2 separate regions of the Homo sapiens genome follow, and region 2 is linked to region 1. The links are contacts of gene promoters, found by promoter capture Hi-C in blood cells and fetal thymus (Javierre and others, 2016). All regions are on one chromosome and are shown on one strand. The core of a region is centred on a gene start or on the middle of the fragment in contact, and the rest is flanking DNA. Distances in the headings are between cores, read along the strand shown.

Region 1 (2,825 bases), core at 143-2,642:
GCCTTTAAACAACAGAGAAACAGCTATTATTACATGCACTTCAGAGCACTCGAATGTATTGATGTATAAAACACCTTCCCACCTGACATCACCATAAACCTCACTTTTTATTTTTCAACCACAAAAGCTTCATTAGTGAATTATCAAGAGAAAAAGAATCTTCAAATTTTTTCTAGACCTAGAATTTCTTCATGACAAGATTCACCTTGTAATCCCAGGACACCGGCAAGGATCTTGACATTTTCGTTTGAAATTATTCATGGGCAAAGCCTTGTTATAACTTGACCGGGAAGAGCCCAGAGCCATCAGTGTGCCAGTCCAGGACTCAGCTCAGGAAGAGTCAGGTTCAGCCCGCCAGGAAGGGTTTTCAGTAAGTTATGGAAAAAGATAAATCCCACACGTGTGACAAGAGTTAGGACTGCATACAAATGAAAAAAGCCAAACTTCACTTTTTCCACTTTTATCTGAAATGTCGCTACACTGAAACTTCCACAGAGACCCACGGGGACGTGTGGCCTGTCACACCGTCGGCTGTATTGGATCAGGATTATTTCTTATGAAGGTCTGCTTTGCCAGTACGCAGCAGGTCCCAGTCTCTACGCCGTCCCGAACACCTCGTAGAAATACGGGGCATGCACAACGTTGTACCTGCTCCAATCTAAGCAGCAATCCAGCCCTTTTGGATTGCCTCTACCCAAACCTAGAACAAAGATGGCCAGGAAAAGACCAGGGACGCTCTTTATTAAGGGAAGATGCACATATAATGAAAGATAATATCCAAACCTCTGCACGCCAACACGTGCAGACGCAGGCACAAGTCCTATCATATTGAAGGTCGCAACTCACTGGGAAGCCCTTTCCCCAGAGTTAAAGCGGGAGCTAAAAGTCCGCTTATGCAACAACAGTCCAATTACTCGGACACCCCGAGCAAAACTCTCCAGCGGAAGGGGCAGCGGGGTCTGGGGCGCCAACTCCCTCCCTGCAACTCCCGCCGGCGCCCGACGGACTCGGTTCATTCAAGCCGGGCTGGGTGAGCGCAGCCGAGTCCCGTAGGCGCGGGGGACAACATGGGCGCCCCGGGGAACCAGGGCGAGCCCGCTGCCAGCCAGGACTGTCGCCTCCCTCCTGCGTGTGGCGCGCCCCGGGCTTCCAGGGGCTGGTGCCACTCACCTGAAGCGCCGGCCACCTGGGCGAAGACCCAGCCGAGCAGGAGCGTCCGAGCGACGGCGGTCTCGGGGCGCGGGACCCGGGGCCAGGCAGGGGTCTCCATGTCTACCAGTTGGCGGCGAGATCGAGCGGGTTCCGTGGCGCCCGTGGGGCTGGGGAGGTTGGGCTGAAGGCGCCCTGGGCCGGCCAGAGGGAGTGCGAGGGGGTGCGGGGAGCTCGCAGTCTTGGGGAGCCGGTGCCCCGCGCGCTATAAAGGGCCGGCGGCGCGCTCTCCCGCGCCTCTGCCCGCCCCCGGCGCCCGCCCCCGCCGCTCCTCCCGACTCCCCGCCCCCGGCCCGGGTCACTTGCCGTCGCGGTGGGCGGCCCCCGGCGAGTCCACACCCCTGCCCCGCCTCCTCCCGGTAGGAAACTCCGGGACCCTGCAAGGGATGACTCACCCCAGTGATTCAACCGCGCCACCGAGCGCGGAGCTGCCCTGGAGGACGCAGGCGGGTCTAGTTGCCCGGGTCCCCCAAGGCCCCCGGATTCACCCAGGCCCGCGACTCCGACGTGCAGCTTAGGTGGGTTGCAGGTCTATGGCAGGAAAGGGAGGGCGCCTTGGAAGAATTCTTCCCTTCCATTTGGTGATAAAGTGGGAGAGGCGGCATTTACAACATTTAATAGAAAGCACGGGCTCTGGGCTCCCCTCGGGCAGCGGAGGGCATTTCCCGGATGCTTTGCCCACCTGGGGCAGAAGCTCGGGACCTGCAGCGAAGTAAACGTGTGGCTGTGAGCAGGGCCCTCTCCCAGCCACGGTGGCTTCTTCTACCCCACGAAGGTCAAGAATACCTGGCCTGCCCACCTCGCGGGGCCCTTAGCGGGTCGCACAGGAGAAAGGCGGTGGGAATGCCGGTGTCAGCCACGGTGTGACCGGCTCGGCTCACAGGTCTGAGGGTCAGTTGGCTCAGGCATCGCCCGGTACGACCAGAGATAGTGACTGAGGAAGAGCAGCCTCACATCTGGCAGTTTGCCTCTGGGAGAATTCCAGCGTGACATCTGCAGCTCTGTGGTTCCAGAAAGGATGGTTCCCACATTGAAGAAGACATCTGTGGGACTGAGTTCCACCGAAATGCAGAGGAACCAAAAATGAAAATGAAAAATGTAACCAGAGTTGTGTGCCACTAGTTTTAAGCTTTGGTTTTTCTAAATTATTTTCTGGCTTCTCCTTCTGGGCTTTGCTGTAAACTTGCCAAGCATGAGAACAACTCTTCATCTATTGAGTGGCATTTTAAGCCATCCTGTCAAAGTATCTCCTGTCATTTTTATTATTATTACTCTATATTGCCTGCAAGACACGACTGGAGAATTCTTAGTGTAAGAATTGTTTGTTTCCTCTCTCCTTCTTTCCCACGTTTTCCCAGGGAAGTCAGTCTTGCATTTTAATGCATACTATATACATATCTCGTTTAGCTTACTGAACCACTTGTTTTAACAGAATAAAACTGTGCAAAATTTTAATTTTCCTCCTTTGCCTGAACTGAAATAGCACATCCAGGTTTAGCCCTTGTAGACTTTCCTTCCTCGAAGCAGAAAGTTGCCCTTGATGATTTCCTCTTTGAGCTCTCTGCCAGCTCTGAAACCCACAAAATTTATGTTTGCAAAACTAAGCCATGCAATCC
Region 2 (2,825 bases), core at 152-2,651, 94 kb after region 1:
GTCAATAGTCTTTCCTGGGCACCTTGTGCCAGGCACTGCATTTGGTGCTGAGGATAGAGTGGAGAACAAAAGACATACAGCTCATGACCACAAGAAGAGTAGTTTCAGGATGAGAACTAAATGAGGTAGATAGGTAATAGGGTGCGAGGCTTAGCTTTTTTCCTCTGGCTCATTGTGTTCGCTCAGTTATTTTCCCAAAGGTGGGGGCCTTATTGTAGTACTCTTTTGTTTGTTTGTTTGTTTGTTTGTGACAGTTTCACTTTTATTGCCCAGGCTGGAGTGCAATGGCGTGATCCTGACTCACTGCAACCTCCGCCTCCTGGGTTCAAGTGATTCTCCTGCCTCAGCCTCTCAAGTAGTCTCAGTGGGATTACAGGTGCCCACTGCCACGCCCAGATAATTTTTGTATTTTTAGTACAGACAGGGTTTCACCATGTTGGCCAGGCTGATCTCGAACTCCTGGCCTCAGGCGATCTGCCCACTTTGGCCTCCCTTCCAAAGTGCTAAGATTACAGGCGTGAGCCACTGAGCCCAGCCTGTACTCATTTTTTGAATCCTGAGTGCCAAGCCCAGTGCTAGACACACTGTAGATTCTCAATAACTGTTGAACAAAACGAATCTTCTTCATTGTACCCCAAGTCAAAGGAGGACTTTAAACACATAAAGAAATAACAGAGTTTGGCGTGGTGAGGATGTAGAGCATTTCAGGAGGAGGTGATGACCAGCATGATAAGCCTGGCATTAGGCCAGGTCCTCGTCCCAAGCAAAAGGTAAATGTATCAGTTGAGCAAAGGTTTATTCTATTTTATTTTTAAATTGAAGCTAATCTCTTGATAAAACAAAACAAAAAAAGCTTTCTGGTCCCTTTTTCCTTCTAGTCACATTCACACGTGACTGTCTTTTCTCACAGAATAAATCAGTTTAGCTAGGAAGACTGTTTTAAAATAGAAATAAATGCACTTTATATCAACATCACTCTGAGAGAAAAATAAAAGCAAACCATCACAAGTTCGAGCCTGTCCAAACTGGGATAAGAACGATGGAGGCAATAAAATTATAGGGAGAAGGGAATTCAGGCACAGGAACAGGAGTCCAGGCCCCCAGGGCATCACTGGGGATTTCTGTATGGGAAGGCCCCCTCATTCTTCCTGCTGGGGCTGAAACAGCTTGTGGTTTGCAGTCCCGCTGGGAGGGGGCAGAGAGATCAGAAACCAGACTGGGAGCGGGGAGCAGCTGGTTATCATGAACCATGTATCAGGCATTACACAGACCAGCCAGGTCCCTAATCTCTCCTTGTCTCATAAAAATCAGCCCTCTACAGACCTTATGAGAGAGTGAAAAAAGAGTTGATGTTGAAAACAATACTCAAATGGAAAGCTAGAGGGCTGGATTTTGGATTCAACCCTGCTGCTCCTTGATTGTATGATCTTGCTGGACTTACCTCAACTCTGAATATCTGTTTCCTCATTTGTAAAATAAGAAGCTGGAACTAGATGAGGTGTGTTAAATCCCAAGAGTATTTTGTAATTTTGTAATTTTCAGTGTACAAGTCTTGCACTTCTTTTGTTAAATTTATTCCTGAGTATTTTATTCTTTTTGATGGTATTGTAAATGGAATGCCCATTTAGGGAGTAAGGGAGTAGAGGAGTGCCCCTTTACTGTATCTCATCCATGGCAGCATGACTAATCAATCGCCCCCCACTGTCCTTCCAACAAGTTGCCTGAGCTCCTTCACAGACCAGTGTTGCACAGAACCAACACCAATCATTTGGAACTGGAGTGCAAAATACAGCTTACTTGCCATCCTCGAACAGATGTACAAGGCTTTCTTATGTGATTCTAAATCATTTTCTCTAGGTTTGTGCAGGCTTCCCACTGCAGCTGCCATGCAGCAGAAACTGAATGATTCCATAAAGTCAAGAAATAACCATGATGGCTCTTCGTAAGCGTAAGCTTGGTGAATACTATTATTTTGGTAGAGTATTATTTTGGTAGAGGACTCCCAACACTGCCGTCATGCAGTGAGATCTTGCTGAAGGAAGGGGATCTCATGGGATTGGGGTCTGGGAAGAGGTTTGAAAAGATAAGGAAAGTTCCACTGAGGACTAGAGGAAAGGGTAAAATGACAATACCCTTCTTTGTGGGTCACTTCATAGTTTACCAAGTATTCTCATGTCCACTGTTTGCTTGTGCTTCAAGTCAGCCTTTTGAGGTAAGTGTCCTTATCATTGTTTCTCAGAGGAAGACATAGAGGTTCACAGAAATTAGGTAACTTATCCAAAATCACATAGCTACTAAGGAGTAAAGCCTGGGCCTTCACTAAATATGTAAATGTTGCTTTCGGCATCTGGCCATGACCCTCCCTCTCTACCGCAAGTCTCTCTAGCAAGCTGCTTTCCAGAGAGGCAAAGCTGTTCCAACAATCATGGTTTGACAGAAGTCCCTGACAGAACAGAATATCACATGAGTGATGGCAAACCTTTTTTTTTTTTTTTTTAAATATACCTTGGCTTGACATTAGAGTAGTAATAAGCTCTAAAAACAGTAAATTCATCATGATTCTTGCCCACAGGATGAGAGAGCATGCATGGAAAAGAAACATTCAAGTTTGGAATCAGAGTTTCCAATAACTAAGGTTTTGGAATCACCCAGAATATCCATAAGCAGGATTCCCCCTAGATTTGTGATCTTATTTCCAGGGAATTCCTGGTTTGGATTATAAGTGAAAGTCAAATCTGTTTCTGACCAAGTTTTGGCTTTGATATCCTTAGTGAGGTACTCCCTTTTCCCAGACCCCCAGGAATTTAGCGCCCTAGTCCTGAAAC

Evidence for each region. The method cuts DNA at HindIII sites, captures the fragments that hold promoters and counts their contacts. A CHiCAGO score of 5 or more calls a contact.
Region 2: a contact is called between a fragment that was not itself captured here and the fragment with the promoter of F3 in region 1, in 4 of 17 cell types (M1 macrophages, M2 macrophages, monocytes and 1 more). The highest score is 6.8, in M1 macrophages.

The regions. Positions count from the first base shown.
Region 1 is chr1:94,540,367-94,543,191 of GRCh38, forward strand. It overlaps F3 (coagulation factor III, tissue factor), which reads right to left and starts at 1,393. Exons shown (of 6, transcript NM_001993.5): 1 at 1,171-1,393; 2 at 1-2. The coding sequence starts at 1,270. LOC124904223 (a long non-coding RNA gene) reads left to right here and starts at 1,608. Exons shown (of 2, transcript XR_007066234.1): 1 at 1,608-2,825. RefSeq lists a silencer at 1,313-1,592. The HindIII fragment of the contact is 2,211 bases long and covers 126-2,336 here.
Region 2 is chr1:94,633,934-94,636,758 of GRCh38, forward strand. The region is part of intron 4 of SLC44A3-AS1 (SLC44A3 antisense RNA 1); the gene reads right to left. It overlaps LOC105378861 (a long non-coding RNA gene), which reads left to right. Exons shown (of 3, transcript XR_001738160.3): 2 at 1,858-1,948. Among named protein-coding and RNA genes, the nearest start is that of MIR12133, 92 kb to the left of the region's middle. The HindIII fragment of the contact is 1,100 bases long and covers 852-1,951 here.